2 separate regions of the Homo sapiens genome follow, and region 1 is linked to region 2. Evidence: promoter capture Hi-C in human tissues and cell types (Jung and others, 2019). All regions are on one chromosome and are shown on one strand. The core of a region is centred on a gene start or on the middle of the fragment in contact, and the rest is flanking DNA. Distances in the headings are between cores, read along the strand shown. Region 1 holds the start of HLTF (helicase like transcription factor). Region 2 has its middle 7.4 kb from the start of TM4SF4.

What was found. Contacts are between HindIII fragments. The study calls those that stand out against the background at their distance.
Region 1: the fragment with the promoter of HLTF here is called in contact with a fragment that was not itself captured in region 2 in 2 of the 25 tissues and cell types used here (H1 embryonic stem cells and mesendoderm cells).

What each region holds. Positions count from the first base shown.
Region 1 is chr3:149,085,028-149,089,150 of GRCh38, forward strand. HLTF (helicase like transcription factor) reads right to left here and starts at 1,506. Exons shown (of 25, transcript NM_003071.4): 1 at 1,290-1,506. The coding sequence starts at 1,309. It overlaps HLTF-AS1 (HLTF antisense RNA 1), which reads left to right and starts at 1,305. Exons shown (of 3, transcript NR_046648.1): 1 at 1,305-1,451. RefSeq lists enhancers at 833-1,350, 1,256-1,465, 1,351-1,868. The HindIII fragment of the contact is 14,534 bases long and covers 1-4,123 here.
Region 2 is chr3:149,465,441-149,469,188 of GRCh38, forward strand. No RefSeq gene overlaps it. Among named protein-coding and RNA genes, the nearest start is that of TM4SF4, 7.4 kb to the right of the region's middle. The HindIII fragment of the contact is 4,376 bases long and covers 1-3,722 here.

The DNA.
Region 1 (4,123 bases), core at 256-2,755, 380 kb before region 2:
TTAAAGCAGGAATTGCAGTGAGTGGAGAAGGCTTCTAGGAACTCTACCTGTTTTCAATATTGGCTCTTCTACCTGCCCCCTAGGTATTCAAAATGAAAAGCCTAGTCAGAGTTCACTAACCTCTTTCCCAGTGAAAATCATCTAAATTGATATGTATATGATGTCTGTAACTACAATTATGGGCCGGATGCGGTGGCTCACGCCTGGAATCCCAGCACTTTGGGAGGCAGAGGCAGGTGGATCACCTGAGGTCAGGAATTTGAGACCAACCTGGCCAACATTGTGAAACCCTGTCTACTACAAATACAAAAATTAGCCAGGCGTGGTGGCGCCCATATGTAATCCCAGCTACTCGGGAGGCTGAGGCAGGAGAATCACTTGAACCCGGGAGGCGTAGGTTGCAGCGAGCCGAGATTGTGCCACTGCACTCCAGCCTGGACGACAGAGCGAGACTCCATGTCAAAAAAATAATTTAAAAAATGAAATCATATGCCAAAATTTCAATAGGGATTGAGCTATATAAAAGACTTATAAAAATACAACTATTAATGTACCAGAAGTTGTTTATAATTTTCCAGAAAATACATCCAGCATCCATCACTGTAACTCCCTGCGAGCAGAACACCTATTCTGGTATCCAAACCACGCCACCGTGGGAAATTGGCCCCAAGCCACCCGTACCCGCCTTCCGTCGCCGGTTTAAGCATAACCCCAAACCCATTAGGTGTAACTGTTTCGGGAATGACCATAAATACCAATTTGGACAATGAAAAGTGAAGGGGAGTCTACTGGAGCATTGCAAAAAGTTTCCATTCTCCTAAGAACAGTCGCTTATTTGCGATGCGTTTTCCTTGCAAGTGGCGCATATCTCTACTAGCGCCTCTGCAAATACTTATCTGCACGTCTGTGCATACAGATAAGCTGTGAGCCACTTGGGGACAAGGACTGTCTTACTCGGCCCTCCACCGAGCACAATGCCTGGCGCACAGTGGGTATCTAATGGATGTTTTGTTAAATAAAGCACTGGCCGAGATGCTTTAAGCCCCAGGCCCCCCACAGTCGGTGACAGAGATTTCCCAAGTCCCTAACACGGGACTCGCCCTAGGAGCCCCTACTCGCCAGCGAAGACAATGCATTTATTTCTCCGGCGGCCACATATGCGACCAACAGAACGAATACAGCTGCACAAATCGCCCAGGGAACGCAGAGGAACGCGGGGAAGGTCAGGTTCATTTGGGGACGCCTCCAGGCCGTTAGACCGAGCGCCCCACCCCCTCCGCCCCCTTCACCTCTTGAACATCCAGGACATGGCGCTGAGTGGGATGACAAGAGGAGCGCCTCGGCTCCCCTGGATCGTTTTCGAGCCGCCTCGATACGCCTCCTTCCAGGCCCCGCAGCCCTGAAGCCGGGGACAAATTCCGAGCGCCGGATCAGGAGCGCACGACTGAAAGGTAAGTCGCCGCGAGTCCAGTCAGACGTCGACGCCGTCTCCTTCTGCAACAATCTGGGAGACCAGCGTCGCTCTGTGACTGGCACTAGGAAAGCCCAATCACGAAGAGGAGAGTGCGGAGCCAAACCAGTCAGAGCACAGAAGGGAGGGCAACTCCGCCCCGCTGCCATTCAAAGACGGCGGGGGGTCCGGGCTGCAAGGGTGGTTCCATCCGGGTTCTTCCCCGCCCCCAAGGCGGGCGCGCGGGAAAGCCACGAGGCCCCAGGAGTGCGACTGCGGTGCCTGCGGTGCCGGTGTTTTGTTTGATTCCCTGCCTCAAACGGAGGGAAACGACCTTCCTTTATCCTACGAGTCCTAAGACTGAACCCCATTCTAAAGGCTCTACCGTATCCTTCCTCTTATTTTCTTCTCATCTAATGTGGCACATAATAGGGCCTTATACTAAAGGAGCTCCACGGTTTACGAGACCTAGAGCTACCGGCGAGATACTTTACTTCATTCCCTGTGGTGAACCGTGGGGACTTTCGCTCCAAATTTTCATGTTAAGCCTCAGCGTATGCATGAGACACAACGAGTTTGGAAAATCTTAAATGGAACTTAGAGTCCCCTCCCCACCTCTTTTTGTTATTTTTAAGGAAAATTTTCCTTTCTTGGTGCAGGAAACCCATCACATGTTTATTACAGCTATGGGGGCGTTTGCCTGAAATGGTGGACGGGACCATTTTCCCCGTGGGCACTTGGCTGCTCCAGCCAAGAGGGGGAGGCCCTTGTTTTCCTCAAGGAACTGCAGAGGGGCGCTCTGAGGCCCTCCATGGCTCTCTTTCCAGAGTCTGAGGTGACCGGAAGGAGAATGCGGCCCTGGGACCGTCAACCTTGGACCAGCTGCAGCCGACGCCTGGCAGGGCTGGTCGCTTTGCGTTGAGGAGGCTGCTGTCCCCGAAGCTGGCCTTTTAATCGCACAGGGCAGGAAGCTGGTGGTGGCGCCCAGCTGCACAGGCGGCACCATGTAACTGCCAGATAATACTTGCGCGTCACAGAGAGGTCCATGTTACACGCCTGTCAGCACAATAATATTAGGTGGTCAGCTTTTCTTTTTTCTTTTTTTTGTTTTTTTTTCTTTTTTATTGAGATGGAGTCTTGCTCTGTCCCCCAGGCTGGAGTGCAATGGGGGTGATCTTGGCTCACTGCAACCTCCGCCTCCCGGATTCAAGCGATTCTCCTGCCTCAGCCTCCGGAGTAGCCGGGATTGCAGGAGCCCGCCACCACGCCCAGCTAATTTTTGTATTTTTAGTAGAGACGGGGTTTCACCATATTGGCCAGGCTGGTCTTGAACTCCTGACCTCAGGTGATCCGCCCGCCTCGGCCTCCCAGAGTGCTGGGATTACAGGCATGAGCCACCGTGCCAGGCCGGTAGTCAGCTTTTCAAGACACATTTGTTCATTATCGTAAATAAACTGTAGTGATCTCTAATCATGAACCATGGATGAGCAATAGAATTTGAAACAATGTATTATTTCATTTGACCAAAGTTGATGAGGAAGATAAAGACAATGGCATTTCAAATTATTTTAATTGTTGTATGTTCTTCTTGAAGTGTGTTGAGGCAAATGGCAATACAGTTCAGCTTTTAGTATGCCAGATTTTAAATAAATTCTTGGAAAATATGCCAGAAATTGCTCAAATTGATGTTTTGTAAGAGTAAGAAAGTCATGCTCACTAGACAAAGAAAAAATTCCAAATATGAGAACATAGCTCTTTCAGACTTAAGACTGGCCAGGCGCAATGGCTCACACCTATAATCCCAGCACTTTGGGAGGCCGAGTTGGGTGGATCACCTGAGGTCAGGAGTTCGAGACCAGCCTGGCCAACATGGTGAAAGCCTGACTCTACTAAGAAAATACAAAAATTAAGCAGACGTGGTGGCACGCACCTGTAGTCCTAGCTACTTGGGAGGCTGAGGCAGGAGAATCGCTTGAACCAGGGAGACATGGGTTGCAGTGAGCCGAGATCAAGCCACTGCACTCCAGCCTGAGCAACAGAGCGAGACTCCATCTCAAAAAAATAAAAAGACTTAAGATCTATGAATAATGACTGTCCCATGGTTAAAGAATGTGCTTTGAATGAACTAAAATTTGCTATTTAAAGGAATGGTATGGAAAGGAAAGGAATCCAAAATTTCTCCATCCAGCCACTTCCCAGTCACAAACACACTTCTCATCTGCACCCCCAGCCACACACACACACATGCCCGCGCGCGCGCACACACACACACACACACACACACACACAGAACCTTTATGCAAATTAATCATGTCATGTCACTCCCCTGTTTGATTCAGTGAGCCTGAAATCCAAGAATGGCATATGTGGCTCTTCCTCCCACAGTATGTTTTCTCTATGTTATCAATATTTCACATCCCAGAACCAGGAGTAAAACATTCTTTCCCTTAATCATTCTTTGTTTTATATTTAAAGATCAAGTACAATTTGTACTAGTTTGATTAAAATGTTACAGCAATTACAATTTCAAAACTATTATACTAAATAATGTTTTCTGAAAAATTAACTTTTTTGGTTTTTTCTTGATTTATTCTGATAACAGCATCACAAGTAGATATGAAAAATGAACACTTGTAACTGGAAAATGAACTGTAGGGTGGCTTGTGGGGTTTG
Region 2 (3,748 bases), core at 285-2,784:
GGACTTTACCTTTCTATAAGATACTGTCACCGTTTTTAAGGAGTGTCCCATCTCCATTTCTGGCCCAGAGGTAAGATTAGAGGTTCTGACATGGTGATAAGTTTGAAAAACAGATACAGCCCTGAAAGTCCCGGGAAGAAGGGAGGAGGAGAGGGAACAAGCTTCAGAGTGCTGGCTTCCAAAGTCCTTCCGCAGATAGCCAGTGTGCTTCCAGCTGCTCAGTGGGAAGAGACTCAGAAATAGTGGAACGCTGCAAGGAGGTCAAAGGAGAATGAAGCCTGAGACATGGCCACGGGGTTCAGTAACGGGTAATGGCACTGATGAACTTGCCATAGTGAGACTGGGACAGGAACCAGATGGCAAGAGGTTAACAAATCAGAGGGGGCTGGGAACTGGAGAGACAGGCTTGGTCAAGAGGAGAAAGGAGCAGGGTCAAGGGAAGATGTTTCCAAGACAGAATTCAAAAATGGAAAAATTTGATTATTTCTGGTTGTTTGATGGGTAAATGGGAGTTCATTATACAATTCTCTATACCTAGTGGGTATTTTTTAACTTCTTTAATAAAAATTTAGGAAAGGCAAAGTGAGAACTGAGACTGTGTGAAGAGAATGAAGAGATAGGTAAGAGAGGATACTAAATCTTTAAGACAGAATAATGATAATTGGTGGTACAGTCTCAGGGAAGGTTTAGAGATGGGAACAAAAGCACCAGTGAGGGAATTAATCTGCTGACAGGGGAAAGATAATAAAAATGGATGAAGATAAGAATAAAATGTGGATGAAAGAGGAAAGTGTTCATATAAAAATATTATAAGGCTGAAAGGAAGATGGATGAAGGAACTTGGGCCTTCATTTCTGCAAGTGGGAGGAGAGGTTATAACTCTCAAAGGAGTTGGGGCGAGGGAGGAGGGAGGGTTTGAGGAATGTGGAAAAGGGTTGGAATAACAGTTGCGGAATGCAGTAGGGAGTGAGTAAGAGGGGAAGATGACTGTTGAGAAGCAGGCCCATCTAAAGAAAGGCAGCCCAAGCTTTTAACCGATTCATACTTTGACAACCACCACCATAAAGCATGCAGAAAACAGCAAGCTAGAGTGATGTGGGGTCTCTTCCGACCCTAGAGCCTTCTGAAATCCCTAAGCTGGCAAGTGACTGTCCCAAGAACAAAAGTTTGTTAGAGCAAGTAGCAACTACTTGAAACACCCCACAATGAGCTGCTCCAGTGGGAAGTCTAAGGAAGGGCATCCATTTGCCCCAAAGTAAGCAGAGTAATAAATGTGTCCAGCCTCAATGTATGGCCCTCCGACTGCCAGAATCACCTGAAGCTTGTTAGAAATTCAAAATCTAAGGCCCTGTCCCAGACTTTCTAAATCAGAATCTGTATTTTAACAAGATTGCAGATGATTTACATGCACATTAAAATTTGAGAAGCCTTGGTCTGTAACTTTGCTAGAAGCTTTGATATACATATGGGTAATCACAGAAAAGCTAATGTCAATTTAAAAATAAATTGGGCCTCTACATTGTGCCTCACACTGTGAAGACCACCAAAGACCTGGATGCATTTCTCTACCCTTTAGGTTTAATCACAGTAGTTATTGCAAGTAGGAATTATTTTTGCAATTGCAGTTCAGTCTTGAAAACCTATAAAAGGGAAAAGGTTTATCTAACTTTGACATTCTGTGAATTGGAACTGATTATTCAATTTTAAGCAAGGGAGTTTATCATTTGACCTTGCTTCTGGACTCTCCACCACTGTCAGTGGCAGGGTAGCTCAGGTGCACTTAGAGCAGTCACACATCCTACCAATTACTACACTGAGTTACTTCCTTTTAAAACTTAGTTTTAATGTTTTTACCGCCTTAGAATTTGGTCTTATCCATAATTTTTGCTCTCTTTGCTCAGTCCTTTGGCAACTAGAAATCCATAGTTAGAGTCAGTGAGAGCATCTTTGAGCAGTGGGACAACATGTCCCTTCCAACTCGTTGGCATTGCTCTTTTCTTTCATAAGACACGCACTCAGTCTAAAGAGTGTGGGCTTGGGTTCAAGTGCTGACTTGCTTTCTAGCTGTGTGGTTTTGAGCAAACTCTTTACCCCCTGAGCCTCAACTTCCTTCCATATAGCAAAGAGGGAGGTTACTGGGTTACTATCACCCATCTCAGAGGGACATTGTGAGTTAATATTGAAAAGCATTAAAGTTATACCTAGCATGTAACAAGCTTACAGTAAATATTACTACATAATGTAATTTTATCAAAATTCTATTCTTGGCAATGAATAGTTTCAAAGGAGCCTATTCAGGGGAGCCTTCCCTATCCTGACTGGAATCCCCCTGTTACCCTATATGCTTTCATAGCTCTCTCTAGTCCATGGAACAAATTATAGTTTGTTATTATATGTTTTTGAGACGGTTTGATTAATGAAAGGCAACATGCGTAGAGGTTAAGAGCACAGACTTTTTTTTTTTAAACTAGATTGCTTGAGATCAAATCCTGTCTCCTGCTACTAGTGATGAGATCTTGGGAAAGTTACTTAATCTCTCTGGGATACAGTTTCCTTATGAGTAAAATTCAGATTAAAATAGAACCAACTTCATACAATTGCTCTGTTTTCTGTTATTAGCATTATTAATATCTATCTTCCTTTTCTTATAAGCTCTGTCCATTTAACACGTCTCCAGTACCTGACACATCAGTGCTCAAAAAATGTGCTAAAAGAATAAATATACAAAAGCTAAAATTGACCCCCATGAAAGTTCACTGACATGAAATTTTAAGACAGTTGTTTTTGATGTTTTTTTTTTTTTCCAAATTGTGCTTGCTGTCTTGGTGTTGTTATCATTTCCCAATATGTTTGTAAATTTTTATAAGCAAAAATTATTTGGAAAAATAATTTTTAAAAACTAATGGGGAAACACTTGTACAAAGGCACAGACAAAAAGAATAATACATAATTATATAAAGTCAGATTTATAGAAATTAAAAACACATGCAGTGTTAAAATTTCTCTGCATTTTAAAGCCATAACATGAATTTTTAAACTTGGTTTCTTTTTGAACCCATGTTTAATTTTAAAAAGAAGATGAGGAACCGCAGTTAGTGATGTTTTACCTTACGGAGAGTGGGTGAGGGGTGAGTTCCTGTTGAAAGTTAACTTCTCACCTATAACCATGATGATATCAAAGAATGCTAAAACAAATCAATATTTGGGCAGGTCATCTGGGACAGATTTACCAGCCAGAGCTCATGCCTCTCTGAGAGGTCACAGCTGTGCCCTTTTGTACTGAGACCTGCATTAGAGAGGACTATATAGCACCCCTTTGAGTCATGAGGCAGGAAGAGATTTGCATTTCTCATTCTAATTTTGAAAACAACTGGAGATACTTTTAAGGTGTAGATGGTGCCTGCTAGCTCCTCAAGTGCAAATCCTAACTCAGGCTGTGTCTACCCATACACAATTGTGGGAATTATCCAGATAATTTACCCTGTAGCAGAGAAAGGCCCTTGATTTAAACCTAAATGCATGCAGGCTGTCCTCTCTGTGTTGAGCAAACAATAGGTACCAGTCTTTGGTTTCTGAAGCAGGATATTGTGGTGATTAAGAGGATGGTCTCTATAATCAGACTCCTTTGGTTTAAATCTACCTTTATCTCTGTGGTGAATTAAAGCTGGCCAGAAATTCTCTGACATTTCTTTCATAAAGAGGTGAGGTCTATGTTCCCTCCCCTTGAATTTGAGATCATTCTGACTAC